Linked DNA regions of Homo sapiens: regions 1, 3 and 4 are each linked to region 2. The links are contacts of gene promoters, found by promoter capture Hi-C in blood cells and fetal thymus (Javierre and others, 2016). All regions are on one chromosome and are shown on one strand. The core of a region is centred on a gene start or on the middle of the fragment in contact, and the rest is flanking DNA. Distances in the headings are between cores, read along the strand shown. Region 1 overlaps SV2B (synaptic vesicle glycoprotein 2B). Region 2 holds the start of PRC1-AS1 (PRC1 antisense RNA 1). Region 3 overlaps SV2B (synaptic vesicle glycoprotein 2B). Region 4 overlaps SV2B (synaptic vesicle glycoprotein 2B).

Evidence for each region. Contacts are between HindIII fragments. The CHiCAGO score rates a contact against its expected background, and 5 or more counts as called.
Region 1: a contact is called between a fragment that was not itself captured here and the fragment with the promoter of PRC1-AS1 in region 2, in 1 of 17 cell types (M1 macrophages). The highest score is 5.7, in M1 macrophages.
Region 3: a contact is called between a fragment that was not itself captured here and the fragment with the promoter of PRC1-AS1 in region 2, in 1 of 17 cell types (megakaryocytes). The highest score is 5.2, in megakaryocytes.
Region 4: a fragment that was not itself captured here is called in contact with the fragment with the promoter of PRC1-AS1 in region 2 in 6 of 17 cell types (endothelial precursors, M0 macrophages, M1 macrophages and 3 more); the score reaches 16.4 in endothelial precursors.

Annotation. Positions count from the first base shown.
Region 1 is chr15:91,286,965-91,293,218 of GRCh38, reverse strand. It overlaps SV2B (synaptic vesicle glycoprotein 2B), which reads right to left. Exons shown (of 13, transcript NM_001323032.3): 12 at 3,539-3,698; 13 at 1-850. The coding sequence ends at 667. Among named protein-coding and RNA genes, the nearest start is that of CRAT37, 170 kb to the left of the region's middle. RefSeq lists an enhancer at 1,206-1,500. The HindIII fragment of the contact is 1,123 bases long and covers 1,394-2,516 here.
Region 2 is chr15:90,963,109-90,969,405 of GRCh38, reverse strand. It overlaps PRC1-AS1 (PRC1 antisense RNA 1), which reads right to left and starts at 3,037. Exons shown (of 4, transcript NR_051984.1): 1 at 2,728-3,037. It overlaps PRC1 (protein regulator of cytokinesis 1), which reads left to right. Exons shown (of 15, transcript NM_003981.4): 14 at 286-327; 15 at 2,204-3,366. The coding sequence ends at 2,275. RCCD1 (RCC1 domain containing 1) reads right to left here. Exons shown (of 8, transcript NM_001017919.2): 8 at 6,281-6,297. The HindIII fragment of the contact is 668 bases long and covers 2,582-3,249 here.
Region 3 is chr15:91,245,278-91,251,358 of GRCh38, reverse strand. All of the region lies in intron 2 of SV2B (synaptic vesicle glycoprotein 2B), which reads right to left. LOC105370972 (a long non-coding RNA gene) reads left to right here and starts at 5,282. Exons shown (of 3, transcript XR_007064760.1): 1 at 5,282-6,081. The HindIII fragment of the contact is 7,316 bases long and covers 1-5,223 here.
Region 4 is chr15:91,266,628-91,273,039 of GRCh38, reverse strand. SV2B (synaptic vesicle glycoprotein 2B) reads right to left here. Exons shown (of 13, transcript NM_001323032.3): 7 at 6,348-6,412; 8 at 5,397-5,485; 9 at 4,435-4,599. Among named protein-coding and RNA genes, the nearest start is that of SV2B, 170 kb to the right of the region's middle. The HindIII fragment of the contact is 1,405 bases long and covers 2,637-4,041 here.

The DNA.
Region 1 (6,254 bases), core at 706-3,205, 320 kb before region 2:
TTTGAATAGAGCAAAACAGAAATAAATATCCTTCTTAAATGTATTACCTAATTATCATGGAAAGCCTAGGAGACATAGGAGAAAAGTAGATCTCTATAGATGTTGCTCAAATACTTGGCTTTCTAGATCAGAGTATCCTCAATGCTACTATGTCAATTTTCGAGTGGAAAATATGATAGGTGATACTTTTAAATGCAAAAATATATACTTCAAGCCCAATCTTCATATAATGACTCTAACTTCCAGCCAAGTTGATTTGTTAAGTTGTTGGGCTCCAAGGAGCTTTCTGGAGGAACCTGGGTGTTTCTGACCCTCTAATTCCTTTTCAAACGCAAGTTAAGTCCTTGCACTTGACTTAGAGAAATGCTTGCTCCTCGCATAGTGTGTGCACTCACTGGAGAATCCTCTCCCTGCCTTGGACTGGGAAGACTTGAAGTTAAACACGCAGCTCTGTGATTCTAAGGGTGGCTCAGGGCACCCCCAAATCAGTCACCTGAGTTACAAACATATTGACAGCTGAAGTGGGTCCTAAACTAGGGGTCACAAAGTCAACTTCTCCTCCCGTGCTATCCAAGGTGTCCTCCGGACCGTGATAGGCAGGAAGTGTGGATGCATTTCAGTGTCCTGGACAAGATTCTCTCGACCTTTCCTTTTCCCATAGGTTGTTCACATCAGGACCTGTTCTCGAGTCTCTGGCAGTCGAAGGGCAATCAGGCCACCCCCAACCAGAGAAGCAGCAGCCAGAAGGATGGGGACCACTTTGGTTATCCCAACAAAAGAAGCAAAGATGGTGTTTCCCAGGATGGCGCCAAATTTGCATAATCCATTGAGAATGCCGAAGGCTGTTGCTCTGTAAAAGAGGAATGGAAATAATTCTGACATTCTGAACCACATTAGATGAACAGGACTGGGCTCTTTCTTTTCCTTATTGCAGGGGGAAGAGGGTGCAAGGGAGTTTTTTTTCCTAAATATAAAAATAACACATTCTCATTGTAGTCAAATTTGGAAATACAGAATAATATAAAGATGCATGGATATCTAACCTCTTCACCGAGACACAATCACCTCTATTAACATTTTGAAGTATTTTCTTCAAGTGTTTTTCTTTTTTGTTTTTTTTTCAAAGATATCTATTTAAAACATTTTTATAGGTACTACATGCTTACTATGGAAATCTTGAAAGGATGAAGAAGTATACAAAGCAGAAAGTGTAAGTGTTCCCCCTTTTAACACTCTCAACCCTCCTGAAGCAGAGACTGCCAGTTGCCCACAAACAGCATTTCCCCAAATGTAGGACTACATTTCCCAGACTGATTTGCTGCTGAGCATGGCCATGTGACTTAGTTTTGGCCAATGGGATGTAAGTGCAAGTGGCAGCAGTTCCCAAGAAGCTTCCGTAAGAGACGTTGCGGGTGGGCCTTTTGCTCTGTTCCCCTTCATTCTTTTCCTTCTATCCTGCTTCATGATGGAACACAGATGGTTTCATTTTGGACCATGATGAGTCCATGCAAGGAAAAACAATGAGATAGAAAGAGCCTGCACCACCCACTCTAGACTTTTTCAGGAAAGAAAAATGCAATGCTTAACCTTCTTAAGACCACAGTTACCTGAGGTTGCTGTCAGCAACAGCAAAACCTAATCCTAATTATGATCTTTCAATCACACTTTCCAGTGAGAACTATTACTAATCATTTATTCTTTCATGACCCCATCTGTATGCAGAGGCAATATTCCCAATGCTACCTCTCCCCAACTGAAATAAAGCGTTTCTTTCTCATACCACAAGTTTATTAAGAGTGTGGGTATATTTTTGTTCTTAAAACTCTTCTTTCATTTTTGTCTATAACTGTACCACACTGTAGCTTTATATTCATCAACCCAGTCTTTTTTGTTTGTCTTAGTATCTTTGTTTTTGTATTTTCTTGGATCTTTTAACATATGTCCTTTTTTAAATAAACTTTTTTCAAGTTCCCAGAGGGGAAAAAAAACTTGTTGAATTTTGAATGAATTATTTTATGTTAGAAAAAAAACTAAATAAAAATTGACGTTTTTGTAAGATTGAATCTTCTTATCCAAAATTAGGTATATCTTGTCTTTTAAATATATATATTTATATATAATAATGTATACTAATTATATGTTATTAATTATATGTATTATCATAATTATATATAAATATATAATCCATAAATATATACATTTTCTGAGACAGGGTCTGTCTCTGTCACCCAGGTTGGTGTGCAGTGTTGTGATCCTAGCTCACTGTAACCCTGAAACCCCGGGGCTCTCGCAGCTCTCCCCCTCAGCCTCCTGAGCAGCTAGGACTACAGGCACATGCCACTATGCCTGGCTAATTGTCTAATATATTCTGTAGAGATAGGGGTCTCACTGTATTGCCCAGGCTGATCTTGAACTCCAGCCTTCAAGCAATCCTTTTGCCTCGGCCTCCCAAATCACTGAGTTGGCATATATTTATCTTCTCTTATGTGTCTTTTTTTATATCTCTTAGTAAAGCTTTATGGTTTTCTTCATTTGAGTGTTTCACTTGTCAAGTTGATCCCTAATTATTTTATGACGTCTGCCATTATTAAATGGATATCAATTGCATCTTTAACTTTTTCGATATATTTTAAAACCTATACATAATTTCGTTTTATTACTGACCACCTGACCACATTGTCTTTTTGTCTATAGTGGTCTCATAAGTTAATTCTCTTAGGATTCCTAGATGTAAAATCACATCATATTCAAATAATAATCATTTGTCCTCCTGTTATTTTGTGTAAAACTTAGCAGTTCTTTGATTCAAATGAGAGGGGCTCCAAATATGACACGTTGTGCTCTTCCTTAGTTATCTATATCCCAATACCTCTGTCGCCAATTTTGGAAATATCATTAAGGTTTTTGCAGAATTTCATTTACCCACCTTCCTTACCTCTTCACATTCCTTTTTGACCACAGGGCCTCTTATCTTCTCCTTTAAACTTTACAATTCCCCTCCACGAAGAAAAACAATTACTAAGTAATGGCCTTGATCCTATGCCTTTAAACAAGGCCTCTTCCCATATACGACCTGTGCAAAATAAAAGTAACCCCTGGGCCTCCCTGCCACATTCTCTGCAGATTCCCTGGACTTCATGCTGCCTCCCGACCTTTATTTCTCTCCTTGCCCCCACCCTGTGCTATTCCAGCTCTTCACTTTTTTGCCTTATCTCCCCTTGAAGGTCTGTTCTCTCTTGTGGATTACATGACACATATGGTTTTACCAACTTTTCACTCTTATTTCCTTCTCCTGGACATAGTTTGCTCCCATCCTTTGCTTCTTGCCATCTTTCCCACCCTATCCAAGCCCTAGCCTGCCAACTTTCAGGTCTATGCCATCCACCATGCAGGAGAAGCTCAACATAAAAGATGTTTGTTTCACGGAACAGCAGAAAGACCACGATGGCCATGCACAGCATGAGATTTAGGGAGCAGGTAGACTTCTGGCCAAAGAAGCCCAAACAAGTCCCTGAGGAAAGCCTGGGGAAGAACTGACCTCTGGTTGGTGGGATACAGCTCCACTGTGATCACATCCAGAGCATTCCAGGCTGCAATGCTTGTCCCACAGAACAGGCACTGCCAGCCGATCATTGCAGACTCACTGTTGCCAAAAAACAGGAAGAAGCAGCAGACTGCAGAGATTAGCATGGAGCCACCTGCAGAGGGAGTTCAAGGGCAAAAAGAAACATGAGGCCTGTGTCTTGCACATGGCTGTCACTCACAGTTCTTGCCCCATCTCCCACCCTCACTGGTACACCTGAAGCCAAGGCTGCCTGAAGTATTAGGTTCACCCTCCACACAGAGAGAGCACAGCTGGAATCCTCACAAGGCACCCCAGACATGGCATTAGAGCCCTCTGCGTGGGTCAGATCACCAGACTTAGGAAGGATTCTGAAGTCACCACTCTAAGGTGGTGCCCAGCTCAGAGTGACGGGACGGGGCAGATAGGGGCATTTGTTGAGAATCTATTATGTACCAGACATTGTTCTAGGTGCTTGAGCTACATCAGTATTGGCCAAAAAACAAAAACAAAAACCTCAGTCTTGATTTGAAACCAGGATGTCAAAGAGATCTGTGCTTCTTGTTCAATGTAGCAATATTCACAATAGTCAAAATATGGAGTCAACCTAAGTGGCCATCAACAGATGAGTGGATAAAGAAAATGTGGTTTACATACACAATGGGATACTACTCAGACATTAAAAAGAAAGGAATTCTGGCCTATAATCCCAGCACTTTGGGAGGCCAAGGTGGGTGGATCACTTGAGGTCAGGAGTTCGAGACCAGCCTGACCAACATGATAAAACACTGTCTCTACGAAAAAGACAAAAAGTAGCCAGACCCGGTGGTGCACACCTGTAATCCCAGCTACTTGGGAGGCTGAGGCACGAGAATTATTTGAAGCTGGGAGGCAGAGGTTGCAGTGAGCCGAGATGGCGCCACTGTACTCCAGCCTGGGTGACAGAGCAAGACACTGTCAAAAAAAGAAGAAAGAGAAAAAGAAGGAAGGAAGGAAGGAGAGAGAGAGAGAGAAAGAAAGAAGAGAGAAAGAGAGAGAGAGGAAGGAGAAGAAAAGAAAGGAATTCTGCCATTTATGACAACATGGATGAACCTGGAAGGCAGGATGCTAGATACAGTCCATGGGGTAAACCAGGCACAGAAACATCTGCATCATCTCACTTTTCGAGATCTACTACACAGCACGGTGACTACAGTTACTAACAATGTATTGTATATTTCAAAATTGCTAAGAGAGTAAATTTCAAATATTCTCACCACAAAACATATATATGTGTGGTGATGGATATGTTAATTAGCTTGACTTAATCATTCCACATCGTATATATGCATGAAAATATCACATTGTACCCCATCAAAATATACAATTATAATTTATCCATTAAAAATAAAAAAATAATTTTTTAAAAAAATCCATTCTCATGGAGCTTATAACCTGGTGAGAACACACCTGTACATGGGCTATTGAAGGGAAACCTGAAGAAAGGCGGTGCTATTCCCCATTTACCCGAATCCCCACCCCAGAGATCTGACTTGCCCTTCTCAGCCCTGCGCTATCCTCTGTACATGTGCTCTGTACATACCCTCTACACGCTAACCCCATGGACTTTCTTATCAGTTGGGAGGGGAAGGTGGCTGGAGTACCCCTCCCCAACTCCTCCCCGGGGGTAGAAGGCCTTTTCTGGCAATGTCTGCATCCCTCCAAGACCCCAGTTCCTCCCAGGTAGCTCTTGCTCCACGGCTCCAGCCCCCATGGAGCTCTGTGAGTGCAATTATCCCCCCTTGTCCTCACAGCCATAGAGGTGGTGACTGCTTCTCACTTTTGCTAGTGTCTGGGTGCCTCACCTGCCTTATTTGTTTCCATAACCCTTTCCACACCTCTAAAAGCTCTATGAGTAAAGTTTCCTCACTAGAACTATCTGGGGTGAATCCCTTTTCCCCTCCAGGAATCTAAGTATGCAGTCCATGAGGTTAGCCTCGCAGGGCTCCCAGCAGGGCGGAGAAGTCCAGCTCAGAACTCTGGGGTGGGGATGGGAGTGAACAGAAAATGAGCAGCACAGCCCTTATAGAGCTGATAGGAGATCCCATCCAAAGAAGACTGTCAAATGCTGCCCAATTCCAGTAAGTTCAGCCCGGAGGACCTTGAGATGCAAGCTCCAAGTCCAAGGTGGATGCAGAACATGGCAAAACAGGTTGCAGACTAGAAAAGTGACTGGCAATGAGGTGGAAATAGGGTGAGCAGAAAGGTGGGAAGGAAGCAGGTCTCAAACAACCAACCGGGACACAGGGCACGAGTGCCCCACCAGGCACCAGGACCCTGCAGGAGGAAGGTTTTCCAGTTGTCAAGAAGCCAGAGGCTGACCTGGCCTCAATAAGAAACACCTCCCCAGGGACGGTCCTCAGCCCGGAGTGTCACCCTCAGACCTGGGGCTGCAAGACTAGTGCCAATCCTTGCTGATGAACTAGGAAATGATAACTGTCCAACTGGATTCTGCCCACTTTGGGAAGTGGTAGGGCTGTGAGCAGGTGCCTGGTAACCTTTTTCCAAAAGCTAGGAGAGAACTAGAACAGGGGAAACTGGCATCTACAGGACCCCCAAGTGCTCTGTGGACAATACCCTCTACATGCATGCATCCCTCAGAGGGGCCAGCCATGGGGCTTGGCTTACAGTAAATGCTGGCAAACACTTCATA
Region 2 (6,297 bases), core at 1,788-4,287:
CACAGTTGGGGCAGAGTGGGTATCTTCCCAGGGGCACCCAGGCTATTAGCTAGGGCAGCTACCTTGGAGGCTGAGAATCCCTTTCCTGCTTTGACCATGGCAGGGTGGGTGTGATTTAAGGGGGGGTTGTGTAGGAAGGAAGTTGGCAGCAGCAACTAGACATTTAACCTGGATCCTTCTGCTTAATACATACCATTCCCTGGCTGCAGGAGGCAACCCCTCTATCACTGTCCTGGTGCTCTCTTGGTGGAGTTCTTGGTAATTGTCTTAATTCTTTGTTCTTAGAAGGATCCGTCCCTCTCTGACAGTTCCACTGTTGGGCTTCAGGTCTGTATGGCAATCCCTGCATGTCCCTTTTCCAAACTGATCTGTCATCTGCTGGCTTCATTCATCTGGGCACAGGGCTACACTAACTAATAATCTCAGCAGTGTTACAAAGGAAGCAGGAATTCCTATCATGGACTCAAAAAAACACATCTGATTTACATTCACAACAGATTAATTAATAAAATTTGTTCAGACTTGAATTGGATTCTCAGCCCCTAAAGTCAGGCACAGTTTTAAATCACGTTTAACAGAAAACCTTGACCCTCCCCAATTGTGACATCAAAGGCCTGCAATAGCTGGAAAGAATAGAGGCCCCCAATCACATGGGGAAGGGAGCCCCAGCTGTGTGCTGCCTACAATGAGGCTCTTGGCCTGTGTGCTGATTATTTCCTGGAGTATATGCCTTCCTAACCCCTCAGGGCTTAACCGCCAGCTCTATTCTCAGCTAGCTAATGCTGATTTCCTCACCTTTGCCTCTTTCCATACATTGAGCTACTGAAGCATAGATGAAGCACTGGAAGCAAGTTTTTCCAGAATGCTCTTCACTTCCTAGTATCCTACTCTATATTTGCTAACACCTAACTACACTGCCTTTTACTTAATCTGTGATTTCTTCTCTCAATATTTTACTAGCAAGAGGAGAGGATGTTCCTCACCCTTGAGGGGATATTGAGTTAAACCCCTAGCCTGCCTCCCCTCTTAATTGCTGCAGGGATAGAGAATGGAACAGTTGGCCAAGGCTGCAGCTAGTTTTGATCACTGAAACTGGCTTCCTACTCCAGCATGTTTTTCAAATTACGTGGCTGGTGGTGCTTCTACCTTTAAAAGTGGGTGTGTGTCACTCTGGCTGATTGCTGGACAGAGGTCCAGCTTTCTCTTTTTCGCTTGTTCAACCAAGGCCCATTTTATCTGAGGCTTAAATGTACCTGCCTATCTGTGTGGCTAGTCCTAGGTAGGTTCGTCTGGTTTGGGTTGCTATGGCTGATAGACTCCACCAGGCAGCACCAAAGCCGGTAAACTAACCTCTGCTAATATCTGTCTTTCTCAATAGCCATTCATGCTTTATCTTTTGCTGCTCTACCATGTGCTCCAGCATGAGATCAAATCACCAGCAGGTTACAAGGCCTCAGCCCCAGGGATTGGTAGATATATGTTCTGGCCCATTGTTTTATAAAGGGCTCAAGAGACCAAAGCTTGTTGCCTACTTACCTTGACAACTCTAAAGTAGCTCTGTGAAGTAGAGTCATGCCTCGCTTAATGACAGGGATATGTTCTGAGAATGTGGGGCAATTTCATTGTGCACATATCAGAGTGTACTTAACAGTCCTAGACAGAACAGCCTACACACCTAAACTATATGGTATGGCGTTTTCCTCCTAGGCTACAAACCTGGGCAGCATGTTACAGAAAGAATACTGTAGGCAATTGTGGGTTTTTTTGATTCAGGCTATTCCTGGGATACTGTAGGCAATTGTAACGCAATGGTAAGTATTTGTGTATCTAAACATAGAAAAGGTACAGTAAAAATATGGTATAATCTTATGGGACCACCATAGTGTATGTGGCCTGTCGTTAACTGAAACATCATTATGCAGTGCATGACTGTATGAAGGATTTCTCTTCTGTGAGGTGTAACAGAATGGACTGGCTGAGGAAAAAGGGGTCACGGGCATGCGTGCACATGCACTCTGTCTGTGACTAATAGAATGGTGCTCAGAGTTCCTCACCTTTTACTCCTAACGCAGCCTATTGCAGGCTAGGGATCTCAGAGAAACTACCTTCAAGGGACCTTTTGCTGACACTTAACCAAACTTAGAAGGGTGGGCCATGTGTAAGAGAGGCAGTATGGCCACTGATGTTATTTATTTTTCAACAGCGAGAACTTTCAAAGGCTTCCAAATCTGATGCTACTTCTGGAATCCTCAATTCAACCAACATCCAGTCCTGAGAAGCCCTGATCAGTCAACCAGCTGTGGCTTCCTGTGCCTAGACTGGACCTAATTATATGGGGGTGACTTTAGTTTTTCTTCAGCTTAGGCGTGCTTGAAACCTTGGCCAGGTTCCATGACCATGGGCCTAACTTAAAGATGTGAATGAGTGTTACAGTTGAAAGCCCATCATAGGTTTAGTGGTCCTAGGAGACTTGGTTTTGACTTATATACATGAAAAGTTTATGGCAAGAAGTGCAAATTTTAGCATATGGGGCCTGACTTCTCTACCACATAATTCTACTTGCTGAAGCATGATCAAAGCTTGTTTTATTTCACCACTGTAGGAAAATGATTGACTATGCCCATCCCTGGGGGTAATTTTGGCATGTATACCTGTAACTAGTAATTAACATCTTTTTTGTTTAGGCATGTTCAATTAATGCTGTAGCTATCATAGCTTTGCTCTTACCTGAAGCCTTGTCCCCACCACACAGGACAGCCTTCCTCCTGAAGAGAATGTCTTTGTGTGTCCGAAGTTGAGATGGCCTGCCCTACTGCCAAAGAGGTGACAGGAAGGCTGGGAGCAGCTTTGTTAAATTGTGTTCAGTTCTGTTACACAGTGCATTGCCCTTTGTTGGGGGTATGCATGTATGAACACACATGCTTGTCGGAACGCTTTCTCGGCGTTTGTCCCTTGGCTCTCATCTCCCCCATTCCTGTGCCTACTTTGCCTGAGTTCTTCTACCCCCGCAGTTGCCAGCCACATTGGGAGTCTGTTTGTTCCAATGGGTTGAGCTGTCTTTGTCGTGGAGATCTGGAACTTTGCACATGTCACTACTGGGGAGGTGTTCCTGCTCTAGCTTCCACGATGAGGCGCCCTCTTTACCTATCCTCTCAATCACTACTCTTCTTGAAGCACTATTATTTATTCTTCCGCTGTCTGCCTGCAGCAGTACTACTGTCAACATAGTGTAAATGGTTCTCAAAAGCTTACCAGTGTGGACTTGGTGTTAGCCACGCTGTTTACTCATACAGTACGTGTCCTGTTTTTAAAATATACAATTATTCTTAAAAATAAATTAAAATCTGTATACTTACATTTCAAAAAGATATAGTGTGGTGTTTCCTTTTTTTCCCCAGTCACTTTTTAGTTGGTTGGTCTGTGTGTGAAAAACAAACACAAAAAACTAAAAGGACCTCCTGGAAATTTTTAGTCAGGAGTGTGATTTTTTTTTTTGAGTCTCACTCTGTCGCCCAGGCTGGAGTACAGTGGCACTATCTTGGTTCAGTGCAACTTCCACCTCCCAGGTTCAAGCGATTCTCCTGCCTCAGCCTCCCGATTTGCTGGGATTACAGGCACGCACCATCACACCTGGCTAATTTTTGTATTTTTAGTAGAGACAGGCTTTCACCATGTTGGCCAGGCTGGTCTTGAACTCCTGACCTCAGATGATCTGCCTGCCTCCCAAAGTGCTGGGATGACAGGCATGAGCCACAGCACCCGGCCGAGTGTGATTTTTAAAATATTCTCTGGTACATTTCTAAATTAAGAATATCTCTTACTCTAATTTTTTGGTGAGAAATATAAAACCTAACCCCTGATGTGTAGAGAGCAAAGGGAGTCCTAGGATGCTTCTGGCTTCAATGCCGTTTGTCTCAATATGGGGAGGCTGCCCAACTTCAACAGCGTTACTGAAGGAGGATGGACATAAACTGCACACATGTGAAGCGTAAGAGAAAAACCATCGCCACAGTCCAGTTAACCAAGTCTCTCTACCCCAGCAGTTCTTCCCACCCCTTTCTCACTCCTCCTTCCCAGCCTCACCCTGCCGAGCAACCACTGATTTTTTTTTTTTTTTTTTTTTTTTTTTTTGAGATGGAGTCTCGCTCTTGCCAGGCTGGAGTGCAGTGGCACAATCTCAGCTCACTGCAATCTCTGCCTCCCAGGTTCAAGGGATTCTCCTGCCTCAGCCTCCCGCGTAGCTGGGACTGCAGGCACGTGCCATCACGCCTGGTAAATTTTTGTATTTTTGGTACAGACAGACAGGGTTTCACTGTATTAGCTAGGATGGTCTCGATCTCCTGACCTCATGATCCGCCCACCTCGGCCTCCCAAAGTGCTAGGACTACAGGCATGAGCCACTGTACCTGGCCCACCGATTTGTTACTACAGATTAGTTTGCGTTTTCTACAGTTCGATGTAAGTAGAATCATACAGTATATATTTTTTTGGTCTGGTTCTTTCACTACTTTCAGATTTACCCATATTGTTGCTTATATCCATAATTCTTTTTTTTTTTTTTTTTTTTTTTTTTTTTTTTTTTTGCTTAGTATTCCATGGTGTTGATATACCAGTTTATTCGCCTGTTAGGTTTATTTTTCACATTTGGCTTTTCTCCAGTTTTTGGCTATTAAAAACAAGGCTGTTATAAACATTCATGTACAAGTCTTTGTATGGATATATTTTTTTTTCTGGATAAATACCTAGGAGTGAAATGGCTGGATCACATCTATGGTATGTGTACACTTAACTTTTTAAGAAATGCCAAACTGGGCCGGGCATGGTGGCTCACGCCTGTAATCCCAGCACTTTGGGAGGCTAAGGTGGGCAGATCACGAGGTCAGGAGTTCGAGACCAGCCTGGCCAACATGGTGAAACCCCATCTCTACTAAAAATACAAAAATTAGCTGGCTGTGGTGGCACACACCTGTAATCTCAGCTATTCAGGAGGCTGAGGAAGGAGAATTCCTTGAACTCAGGAGGCGGAAGTGGCAGTGAGCTGAGATTGCACCACTGCACTCTAGCCTGGGCAACAGAGCAAGACTCCATCTTAAAAAAGAAGAAATGCCAAACTGTTTTCCAAAGCAGTTGTACCATTTTACATTCCTACCAGTAATGTATGAAGGTTCCAGTTTCTCCACATCTTCACCAACAGTTGGTATGTTCAGCCTTTATGTAATTCTAGTTATTCTGTGTATGGAGTGGTGTCTCACTATGGTTTTCATTTACAACTCCCTAATGACTAATGATGTAGAGCATCTTCTCATATGCTCACTTGCTATCCTTCTGTCGTCTTTGTTGACTTTTGTCCATTTTAAAAAATGGCTTGGCCAGGCATGATGGCTCATGCCTATAATCCTAGTACTTTGGGAGGCTAAGGCAAGTGGATCGCTTCAGCCCAGCAGTTTGAGACCAGCCTGGGCAATATGCAACAACCCCATCTCTACTAAAAATACAAAAAACTAGCCAGATGTGGTGGCACGTGCCTGTAGCCCCAGCTACCCGGGAGGATGGCTTAAGCCCAGAAGGTGGAGGCTGTACTCCAGCCTGGACAACAGAGAGACCCTGTCCAAAAAAAAAAAAAAAAACCCACAATGAAATACCACTTCACACCCATTAGGATGGCTGTTAACCAGAAATAGAAAACAAGTGTGGACGCGGATGTGGAGAAATTAGGATTTGTGTGCACTTCCAGTGGGGATGTAAAATGATGCAGCCTCTGTGGGAAACAGGGCAGTTCCTCAAAAAAATTTAGAATTACCACACAATCCAGCAATTCCACTCTGGGTATATATCCAAAAGAACTGAAAGCAGAGACTCAAGAGAGTTGTACACCCATGTTCCCAGCAACATTATTGACTGTAGTGAACAACTCAGATATCCACCAATGCACGGATGAATAAAACGCAGTGTATACATACAACAGAATCTTAGCCTTTAAAAGGCAGGAAGTCTAGATACATAAGCTACATCATGGATGAACTTGGAGGACATGCTGCTAAGTGAGATAAGCCAGTCATAAAAAGACAAATACTATGGGATTTCACTTACATGAGGCACTTACAGTATCATAGGAACAGAAGGTTAGGACTGTGGTTGCCTGGGGCTGGGGAAGGGGAGACTGACGAGTTAAGTGTTTAATGCACAGAGTTTCAGCATAGAATGATGAAAAAGTTCTGGAAATGCATAGGGGTGACGGTTGCACAACAGTGAATGCATATAATGTCACTGAACTATGTACTTAAAATGGTTAAAAAC
Region 3 (6,081 bases), core at 316-2,815, 280 kb before region 2:
TTACCATCCAAGAAGGACCTTTCTTCAAGCTACAACCAATGTCTAGCCTTAAGGAAATGTAGTATATTTGTATATGGTGTGAGATAAGGGTCCAGTTTCATTCTTCTGCATGTAATATCCAGTTTTCTCAACGCAATTTATTGAAGAGACTGTTTTTCCCCCTATGGTGTGTTCTTGGCACTTTTGTTGGAAATCAATTGGCCATAAATGTGTGAATTTATTTCTAAGCTCTCTATTCTGTTCCATTGGTCTATATGTCTGTGTTTATGCCACTACCATTGTTTTAAATTACTACAGTTTTGTAGTATATTTGAAAGCAAGTAGTGTGGTGCTATCAGCTTTGTTCTTTTGGCTCGACTGCTTTGCCTATCCAAATCTTTTGTGGTTCTATATGAATTTTAGGATGTTTTTCCTATTTCTATGAAAAATGCCATTGGAAGTTTGATAGGGACGGCATTGAATCTGTAGGTTACTTTGGGCAGTATAGATACTTTAACAATATTAATTCTTTCTATTCATAAACATGGGATATCTTTCCATCTATTTGTGTCTTCTTCCATTTCTTCATCAATGTCTTATAGTTTTCAGTATAAAGACCTTTCATTTCTTTGATTAAATTCATTCCTAAGTATGTTTTAATGTTATTGTAAATGAGATTGTTTCCTAGATTTTGTTTTCAGATACTTCATTGTTAGCATATAGAAACATTACTATTTTTATGTTGGTTTCTTATTTTACACCTTTACTGAATTTGTTTATTTGTTCTAACAATTTTTTGGTGGAGTCTTTAGGGTTTTCTATGTATAAGATGCCATCTGCAGAAACCATTTTACTTCTTCATTTCTGATTTGGATGACTTTTATTTCTTTTTCTTGCCTAATTGCTCTATGTTGAATAGAAGTGGCAAGAGTGGGCATTCTTGTCTTGTTGCTGATATTAGGGGTAAACCTTTCAGCTTTTCATTATTGATTATGATTGTCAGTTGTGGGCTTGCCATATGTGGCCTTCTATACCTAATTTGTTGAGAATTTTTATCACGAAAGGATGCTGAATTTTGTCAAATGCTTTTTCTGCATCTATTAAGATGATCATATGATTTTTATCCATTATTATGTTAATGTGGTGTATCACATTTATTGATTTGCATATGTTTAAACATCCATTCATGCCAAGGACGAATCTCACTTGATCATGGTGTATGATCCTTTTAATGTGCTGTCGAATTTAATTTGCTAGTATTTTGTAGAAGATTATTGCATCTGTGTCCATCAGGAATATTGACCTGTAATTTTCTTTCCTTGTAGTGTTCTTCTCTGGCTTTGGTATCAGAGTAATGCTGGATTTGTAAAATGAGTTTGTAAATATTCCTTCACCTTCAATTTTCTGGAAGAGTTTGAGAAAGGTTGGCATTACTTATTCTTTAAATGTGTGGTAGAATTCAACAGTGAAGCCAGCAGGTCCTAGGCTTTTCTTCGTCGAGAGGTTTTTGGTTACTAATTCAATCTCTTTAGTCATTAATGGTTTGTTAAGATTTTCTATTTCTTCATAATTGAGTGTTGGCGGATTGCATGTTTCTAGGAATGTATGCATTTCTTCCAGATTACACAACTGGTTGTGTGCAATTTTTCATAATAATCTCCTGTGATCCTTCATATTTCTGTGGTATCAGTTGTAATGCCTTCTCTTTCATTTCATTTCTAATTTTATTTGAGCCTTCTTTTTTCCTTAGTCTAGCTAAAAGTCTGTCAGTTTTGTTTATCTTTTCAAAAAACCAACTCGATCCTTTAACTATTACACTTTGCTGCTCTTTACAGATAAGCATTTGTTAGATTCCTTCTCTTTACATTAGTTCATTCTTTCTTCATCTGCTCACCCCCAGTATTGCTTGTCAAGTGAGGAATGGTTCCATCCTTTCAAGGAGATAAACAATAAAATGTATGATTATCTATGAGTGAGAAAAAAGGTGCTCAATAAAGGTATCTGTCAGGTATTATTAAAACCCAGAAGAAGAGCAAACCTTGGATATAATTCACTCAATGTGGGAAGGCTTCCAAGAGAAAGACATTGAGCTGTTCTTGAAAGACAAACAGAATTTAGTCTGATTTCCATTTGGTGACTGAGGCAAAAAGAAAGTCTGATATGTTCGGGCAACTTCTTGTAAGTAGCCTAGCGTGAGTAGAGCATAGTTCATGTAGGGGAATCTGGTGAGGGTTCAGGCTAGAAGGTAGGACAGAAGCCAGATCATAAACATGTGTGTGTGTGTGTGTGTGTGTGTGTGTGTGTGTGTGTGAAAACGTAGATGTATGGATGCATGCACGTGTGATTGTGTGTGTGCACATGGGTGTTTGCATGTATGTGTATGGGCCCATAAACTGAAAGCAGGGAGAGGGAAAAGAGACTTAGAGGAGTGCTCCAGAGATTTGCTGAGAACTAGTCTCCACACCCCACACCCTGAGTCCACCCTAGAGAAAAACACTAGCATCCAATAAAAGTCTATTTTTTCTTTTACTTCAATAAAGCTGTCTTCAGCACTTCTCAAACTTTACTGTGCACATAAATCACCTGGGGATCTTGTTAAAATCATATACTGATCCAGCAGGCCTGAGATGGGCCCTGAGATTCTGCATCTCTAACAAGCTGCCAGCTGAGGCCAGTGCTGCTGGTCTGGGGACCACACTTTGAGTAGCAAGAGGCTAGAGCACATCTGTCCTCCTGTAAACAGTAAATAATGATGAGAATCCAGGCCTTGGAACCCAAAGATCTCATTCACTAGTTGTATGATTTGGGAGCAAAACCTCTCACTTTCTGAGGGTATTAATCACCTCATTTATAAACCGATTACTGAACTAGAGATGATCTCCAAGTTGCCTTCCCATTCATTAATTTTAAATTAATTTTTTAAAAATGTAAATAATGAAAGATGAAGTACTGTGGATTTCCAAGGAAGAAGATATGCAGATTAAAAACATAAACTCAGACACAAATGTTTGATTAAACTACTTAAGGCCATACAAGGCATTTTTTTGTTTGTTTGTTTTTTGTTTTTTAGATGCTCTGTCACCCAGGCTGGAGTGTAGTGGCACGATCTCGGCTCACTGCAAGCTCCGCCTCCCGGGTTCACGCCATCCTCCTGCCTCAGCCTCCCTAGTAGCTGGGACTACAGGCGCCCACCACCACGCCCGGCTAATTTTTTGTATTTTTAGTAGAGACGGGGTTTCACCGTGTTAGCCAGGATGGTCTTGATCTCCTGACCTCGTGATCCGCCCACCTCGGCCTCCCAAAGTGCTGGGATTACAGGCGTGACAAGGATCTTTATGACATTGTACACATGGATCAAAATATCACAGGTGCTCCAAAATATGTACGACTATGATAAATGACTTTAAAAAGAATCGAATAATAATAATAAAGATATCCTTAACAAAAAAGTGGCTTCTAACCTACCAGTTTGCAATCTTAGCAATGAACACTGTGCAGTTATGAAATTATTGTCCCTCAGCTCCAAAGCCACCCTCCTAGACCTTACTTGGTCCACAAATCCCGGTCAGTTTTGCCAGCCACTCTCTGCTAGGCTCTGCCAATAGAGGGCGCTAGAGGGAGGCTTCAGGGCTGGGGAAAGAAGAAAGCACCTGTCCTTTCTGTTCCCTGTAGGTTTCAGCCTGACTGCAGCAATTCCTTTCTAGATAGCAGCTGCATCCAATTAGCAGAGGCCACATTGCACTTCATTCTCCTCTCCAACACCAGCAACTGCCAGCCAGGGCCTCTCTTAAGAGAGCTGAGTTGCAGCTTTATGGAACCCCTTTTCAAGATTCTAAGTTATAATCATTCCAATCTCTTTCCTTTATTCTCCAAGCCCTAGGGGAGGTAGCTTCTCCCTGCATTTGCTACCTCAGTGAAACTTTTCAAAAGCGTTTCACCCATCCTGTTAATAATTTTTACATTAAAATCTCTCTTTTCAAGTAACTGGTATGATTTGTCTCCTGACTATCCCATGACTGATCTAGACACCTAGACAAATTGAAAAACTTTACAAGTTAGATGTTGAATCCAACCCCTTAGTTTTACCAGACGAGGAGGCTGAGCCCCAGAAAGGGTCAATAACTTGCCCAGAACCTCAATGCTGGCCGAGGACCTGCTGGCACTGCATTTCTGGTCTCCTGGCTCCAGGCCTTGTGCTTTCACTACTAAACCTCACTGTCCAAGGTCATGGAGGTACCAGAGAGAATAAGAAGAGCTTCTCAAATGCTGTCTTTGAAGTCTAGGAAAAGGAAGAATGAAGGAAAAATGAGCCTATCACCAGGGAAGGGAAATACAAAATTAACAATGTCTCTGGAATGGCTATGTTATTAGACTCATTTAAAATCTGTCTTTAGCAAAAGAAATTTAAAAAATACATTTGGAAAATTAGAGTGCAGTGGAGTTATCAAAAATTACCTTAGTGTGAAGCAGATAAGGAACTAGTTAGAAAGCCAGAAATTCAATCTTCCCTCAATTTCACTCAACAAGCTCGGTGGCATATTAGGGAAATGATCCCTTAATATACTGAGATTTTTGAGGAAATTGAAAACCAGGATTGCTACTTGCAGAGCAAAGGAGGAAGAGGAGAAGAAGGAGGAGGAGGAGGAGGAGGAGGAGGAGGAGGAGGTTGAAAGGAGGAGCGATGTGGTGGAGTGGAAAAGACTTTTAATTGGTGGTAACACAACAAAGGAAATAGAATACCCCTCCTTGGAAGAGGGAGGAGCCTGCAGTGACAGGCACCATGCAAGAAAGAGCCCAGTTCTGAGACTGAGACATCTGGGCCATGGTCCTGGCTCCATGACTACCACAGCATGCCTGTGGGCAGCCCATTCAGCCTCTCTGACCACTATTACATCTTTGTAAAATTCGGTGCCCATCTTTGCAGAGTTGTTAGGATTATATAGGGGAGTGGATTTAAAGTATCTAGCAAAATGCCTGGCACCAAAGTAAATGCACATTTAATAAAAGCTGCTATTGATGTTATTAGCAGTACAGCTTAAAATTGTCTAGGACCTTGGAAAGCCACAGGATTAGAAAAATAAAAATAAGATGGTGATATTTTAAAAACAAGCCAATCATATACTAAAGGAATATGAGGAAAAAGGATAGAGAATAGCATAGGAAACTTATTTTTAGTAGTATGCCCTTTAAATAGACCTCCCTCTCTCCTTACCTGGAGAAGAAGCCAGCTTCCAATAAAAAGCTTTTTTTGAAAAATATTTTCGAAGTTTCCTCTAACAAGACTTTGAAGGGGGGATTTTTTTTTTTTTTTTTTGCTAACTCATATTTCTTCAGTTCCCACATTAAATGTCATCTCCTTAGAAAGGCATCCCTGATGTTCCAAACTAAGGCTCCACCAACTTTTTCTATAAAGGGACAGAGCATAGATATTTTACTTGTAAAATGTACTTTGCCAATCTTCTATGGTCTCTGTCACATCATATTATTATTCCTAAATTTACAACCCTTTAAAAATGTTAAAAAAAAAATTGGTCATAGGTTTGTAGACCACAGTTTGTTGGTTCCTGTTCCAAATTTCAGTCGTCCCTGATAGTCTTTTGGCAGCATACTATTGCTTTTCCTTTGTATCACATGTCTCTATTTGATGTTATATATTTATTTGTTTGATATTTGCCAAACTCCTGTGACTGTAAACTCCTGGACGAAGGGACCATGTTGATTTTGCTTGAGGAGAGTTCGACACTGTGTCTCTAGCACAGAGATGTACACATAGTAGGTACTCCATTAATATTTGTTCAATAAATAAAACAATCTAAAAGTAATTCCTATTCACTGTAAGAAAATCTGAGGAATACCCCCCAAAATGTATAAAAGGTAAAGCAATAATCTATTCATCATACCACCACTCAGAGACAGCTGTTGTCAGCAGGCTTTATTTTTGTATTTGTATTGGTACGTGTATAACTACATACTGTATTTACACGATAGAAATCTTTCTGTCTCGAAAGCTTCATAGTCTAGCTTTTCACTTAATAAACAACTCAGCAAAGAATATTTTATGCATATGTCTTTGTTGGTGTTTCTAGTTATTTGCTCAGAATA
Region 4 (6,412 bases), core at 2,090-4,589, 300 kb before region 2:
CAAACATGGCAAAACCCCATCTCTACTAAAAGTACAAATACTAGCCGGGCATGGTGGCACGCGCCTGTAATCCCAGCTACTCAGGAGGCTGACACAGGAGAATCGCTTGAACCTGGGAGGCGGAGACTGTAGTGAGCTGAGATCATGCCAATGCACTCCAGACTGGGAGACAGAGTGAGACTCCATCAAAAAAAAAAAAAAAAAAAAAAAAGACGAATATGCTCATTTATCCCCCCTCCCCAAAGGAGCCTTGGCGTGTAACATTTCAGTGTGATGCGTGACAGCAACCTCTGTTCTATTGTGTGTGTGTGTGCTTTCTTCCTCTCTCTGCTCTTCCTGCCCCCTGCTATCCTACCGGCCTCATTTTAGAGCTAAATCTTGTGAACTTCATTTTCATACTGAGCTATTCACCTCTGACCTTTACTAAAAACTCAAGAGAGCTTTTCTCCCATCCTTCATTGGCAAATCATCTGAGTGAGCAGTTACACGTTCCTACCTGAGTAAGAACACAGCATCAGCTTTGAGGAACCGCCAGGAGTAAGACATTACTTCCTGGGTCACGACCTATCACAGACAGAAATCAGGCATCTCTCCCTGATGTGCAGAAAGGTTTAAATAAGATAATGCTCTCCTGCTCCTAACCCTCACAGAAGAAAGCCCTACCAAGCAGAAATGTCTTCCCAGGAAGAGAAGGTAAGTTTGTTAATTAATTACTTAGTTAATACATATTCTGGGTAGAAACTCTATCCTGTTTTTAGCTAACAATAAAGGAAGCCTGGCCTGACATTTTGGCTCAGGGTTTAAAACATGAACTTATTCTTTTGCCTTTCTTGCACTTTCCAAAAACTCACAGGTTTTGAAGCAAAAGCTTCATGGGTACTCAGAGCCCCCAGATCCCCAAAAAGGCACTAGAAGGATGCAGATGATGCTTTGGGAGCAGACCAAAACTAACCTTGGCACTTTTGTTTCTTCTTGGGGGCAAAGAGATTGGTTTTACTGCAGGATGAAACTGAGGTTTCAATAGAATTTCCTTTGTCAACAACTTCCGTGGGTGAAGCTCTGTTTACAAAAAATAATTTTCCACCATGCGTGATACTCAATAAAATAATTTCCATCGAAACCTTAAATCAGCCAAGTATGAATAAAGTCAAAGGAGGAATACTGGTAAGGATAGAAGAAATGCCCCCAAGGAAGCCAAAGAACACGCGTGTATTCATGGAGGCGCTCAGAAGAGGGTTGGGGTTTTCAAAGATGAGCTGTTTTCCAGCTCACGACCAGCAGATGGCAGCATAACTCAAGAAAAGAAGCCAGGCTCCTTTCATTCCTTAGATCGCTTTCAAAGGTTCCTAACCAGTCAAGGAGAAAAATACCCTTTTTATTCAAGCAAGTTGCTGGGGAGGGAGTGGGGGAATTATGGGCTTCAAATAATAGTGGGTATAGGTTTAGTGTCTGTTGGTTAAAAAACATGTACCATATGATGAAAGTTACAATGAACTCATTACAACTTTTGAAGAAATTTATATTTTCATAATCATACAAAAGCATCTATGTACATTTGAAGCATAGAAACATGGTAGAAAATGTGTGAAGACAATCCACTCCAAGACAATCCTTGGCACACCTATACATTCCCAGACCTTGGCAATAACACTGGCTGCTACAGTTACCATTATTAGCAATTTCATTGTCACTACTATCAATATTATTACTCATATCACAATGATATATCTGCTAAACACTGGGAACTTCAGAAATGAGGTCTCCTTAAAAGAATTCATCTCTGCAGGGAATGGTGTCACCCCGTGGGGCGGGGAGAGGCATCTAGTCATCCATAATGTTCCTCAGGGGGTCCTGAATCCACAAAATTCATTAACCATCATCCACAGGATTCACCGTCCACCCATCATCCACAGGATTCACCATCCACCCATCATCCACAGGATTCACCATCCACAACATCATCCACAGGACTTACCGTCTGCCCATCATCCACAGGACTCACCGTCCTCCGATCATCCACAGGACTCACCGTCCTCCCATCATCCACAGGACTCACCGTCCGCCCATCATCCACAGGACTCACCGTCCTCCCATCGTCCACAGGACTCACCGTCCTCCCATCGTCCACAGGACTCACCGTCCTCCCATCATCCACAAGATTCACCGTCCGCCCATCATCCACAGGATTCACCGTCCCCCCATCATCCACAGGATTCACCATCCCCCCATCATCCACAGGATTCACCATCCCCCCATCATCCACAGGATTCAACACTGCTTTCTTCAGCCCCTGTTTCCTCCTCACTCCCACCCAGCAGTTTGCTGAAAGCCCGGAGAAGCTGAGCAAAGTTAAAATGACAGAGTGGATCAAAAGTCTCCACTTTCTGCCTAGCTAAGTGTCAGAACTGCAAAACCTGCTTGTTACAAATCACAAGGACTCTGCGTTGTATTGACTTTAATGCAGAAAGTATCATGTAAAACAGCGCCTCTGTAGGAATGAAGAGTTTCCCAATGAGAAAATATTTGTAGTTGTCAAGAGTCCAAGATCTGGAGTCCAAATGCATGGGTTGGGAGATAGATATTTCTATGTATATTAGCTGTGTGATCTTGAGCAAGATACTTAACCTCTCTAAGCTTCTGTTTCCCCACTTGCAAAAGAGAAAGCATATTTCTTGTTCCCTGGAGTTTTGTGAGATATCTACGTAAGGCACTTAAGGTAGCACCTGGCACACAGCAATGCTCATTAACATTGCCTGCTACAGTGACTATCATTGGCATTATTATCACTGTCACTGCTACCATTAGTATTACTTGTATCAAAATAATGTATCACTAAACATTGGGAACTTCAGAAATGAGGTCTCCTTTAGGGAATTCATCTCTGCAAGGAATGGTGTCACCCCATGGGTGACATCTAGTCATCCATAATGTCCCTTAGTTTTCAATATTTCCAAAGTATCCTAATAAAGCAAGGGTGATATTTCTTCCTTGGCAATGTCAACACAAGACCTCCTGACATACTAAAGAGCTCAGACAATGAAACATCTTGGGGGAACTGCCTTCCACCACCACAAGCTGCCATCCCTAGAGTGGTCACTCTGGGCAGAGGATAATGACTCTGAACTGTCTCTGTAGGGGATGTATAGATGCATGGGTATATGAGTATGGAGATGTCTGCAACTGGGCTTCAGCATTTTAAAAATTCTGAAAATCTGAACCCATGTCAATGATACTTAGTCCAAAACCTTCCTTCCCAAAGGTCTGATATTGGTAGAAATAATATTCTCCTTTTTATTGCACACTTTCTCACCTTAAATAACAGGAAGCCTTAGCTAAAGTCTAGCCTGTAAGAACAATATAGAATAAACTGAAAGAGGTATCCTTCCTGGGCTTCACCCAGCCATTCCTTTCCTAAAGTGGCCAGGAGTCACTACAGGTAGGGACTTTACTGAGACACCAGACGCATATGTGGGTGCAGACAGAGGGAGATACAACATTCACCAGAGGTGAGAATTCGTGGTGTTAATTTTGTATTGAAGTGGTAAATATGGGGCAGTTAATGTGACTGACATTGAACTATCTGGGCCATGGTATTTCAGGTGCCACTGTATAGCCCATGGCCACCCATTTACTTACCATTCACAACCTGATGAGCTTGCTAAGTACAGTTCAGGAAGGGACACAGCAGAGGGGTAAATGCTCAGTTTAGTGAATAATGTGGGCTTGGGTAAGCGTGATTAAGGTCCTGCCCTGATCCATCTTGAGGGTTTCAGAGGACAGTTTCAAAGAGGCATTCCTAAAGCACAACAGGGCGGATGGCCCATCTCATTTGTCCCAGAACCAGGAGGAGGAGGAGTAAAATGGATTGAGGAAGCAGCCCCACAAAGCTGTGAACAGGACTTTTCTAATCCTCCACTGATTTTTTTTTTTTCCTCTAAAAAACACTCCTAGCTGACTGTGGACCATACTGATCAACGCTCCAAAGGAATATTAGGTGAAAGAATAACAACAGGGCTTTATTTGTCCTGGCATGGAAAAGCTTCTAGGGTCAAAGTAAAAGCTCAACACCCAGGCTTTGGACTAGTTCGGGAATCTCAGCAGTAAGAGCCCTAGGCCCTTTCTCTGGGCAGCCACTCTTAATGGGACATCACTTGGAAAAATGGCCCAACTGACCGTCCTCAGTCAAATGTCTCCATCCTCACATGAAATAGCTCTCACCAGGAGATTAGGGTGTCGGGGAGCCAGCACAACACAGACACAGCCACTAGGGGAGCTATGGCGTCACTGGCAGCCATGACAGGTTGTGATGATGACACCAGCCTTGGCGCTCATTCCCGGCCATATTTGATTCTTATCTTCCCTCCGGCTCCCTCCCAATAACAGTCCCCACGACTGTCACCCTGATGTGAGGGAAGCCCGTGATCACTCACTTACTTATCATTCACAAGTTTCCCATGTTGGTGGATCTGATTTTCCATCGTGAAGTTGATTGTGGCGCCGTACACATGCTCACCAAAAAACACCTTCATTTTAGACTTGTATTCTTCATCTTGAAAATAGCGGATCATATCAGGAAACCAAACTGTCAGTCCATAGTAACTGGAGTGGAGAAGGCAGAAGGTTGCAACAACAACAGGATTCATTCTTTCATGATCAGGGTCTACACTCTTGACTTGATGCAGATCAAACTCATTGAAAATACATTAATTTGGTTCATTATTAGAAAATCTGACAATATAAATCCTCATATTAATAAATACAAGGGGAAAACTATGACCACCTCCATAAATGCTGAAAAGGCATTTGATTTAAAAGAAATGTTTTCCTGATACAAACACCAATAGATTAGGGGTTGAGGGACACCTCCTTAACATGTAAAATATACATGTCTCAGCCAGAATCTTAGTGAATAGGGAAACACTAAAGACATCCCCACTGGCTGGATGTGGTGGCTCACACCTGTAATCCCAGCACTTTGGGAGGCCAAGGAAGGCAGATCACTTGAGGTCAGGAATTCAAGACCATCCTGGCCAAGATGGCAAAACCCCATCTCTACTAAAAATACAAAAATTATCCAGGTGTGGTGGCACACATCTGTAGTCCCAGCAACTGGGGAGGCTGAGGCAGGAGAATAGCTTGAACCCAGGAGGCACAGGCTGCAGTGAGCCAAGCCCATGCCACTGAACTCCAGCCTGGGTGCAGAGCAAGACTCTGTCTCAAAAAAAAAAAAAAAAGTTTCTTCTTTGTAGAAGCCACTAGAGTTGGTTTTCTGCTACTTGCCACCAAAGCATCCTACCTGATACAAATTCTAAGTCAGAACTCACTGTAATCCTCAATGTGTAAAGGAGGCCACTGAGGCACAGGGAATTACGAAATTTAAGTAAGACAGAACTTACCTGAATGCCATGGCAAACCAAACCACGGCCAGAATCAGTGTATTCATTCTGTAGGGCCCCATCACACAGTACAGGGCATTATCCCAGACCTACAACCCATACCAGAGAAGGATTGTTAAAGAAAGCAATGTGTGACTTTGTTTCTCCCACGAAGAGCTCATTACTCAGATATTCTAATAAGTTGCCTAGGAACCCATGGAGAGAACCGGTACCCCACTGTCTCCTAGAGGCAGCAAAACTGTCCAAATAACAAGGAAAGCCTCTTCTCTTCCTACTGGCTGGCCTCATACTCTAACAGTCCAATAGGATTTTCCCCGGGAGCACAGCATTCCATGAATGTGATTGAAAGCACACTGAGTTAGGACTTCAAGGCACTGAGTAACCTTGACTGCTGAGTTCTACTCCCTGCCTGTGGGCAAGGGGGATATTGCAAACATTTACTGACCATACACCATGAAGGCCAACCAGTCCCAATAGACGCTGGCTGTCTGGCTGCCTCAGTGCTCAATAGCTGACTGGCTCCCTACTTGGAGGAGCCAGTGCTCCAGAGAAATGGCATTGCCCTTTTAGAAAAATGTTTCTTGGAAATCAAGAACAAGCCTCAAGGGGTCATTTATTTTACTCACTTCTTCCTCCATGTGATTATTTTAAAATTTGCTAGAGAGAATAATGTTTACTCAGACTAGACATTTTATCTACATTCAAAATCCCTGCCTTGGGAAGGAAGAACAAAGAAAAGAAACTAAGATTTAGAGAGTTTTCAGCTCCAGGGCACACAGCAAGCTAGAGGCAGACGTGGGCTGGAGCCCAAACGCCCCCCTCCAGGGTTGCTTCCTCTCCATCACGCTGGCCCAGGTTGGTGGGGATGTTCAGGAGCTGCATTTTTCATCCACTAAGGTAAGAGACTCCCATAGAGACGCATCCTCATCCAAAGTAAGTTCCCAATCATACCTGCTTGAAAATGGTCTTGAATCTGACCAGCCAGCGCTGGTACCAGGTTCCTGTTGAACTTTGGA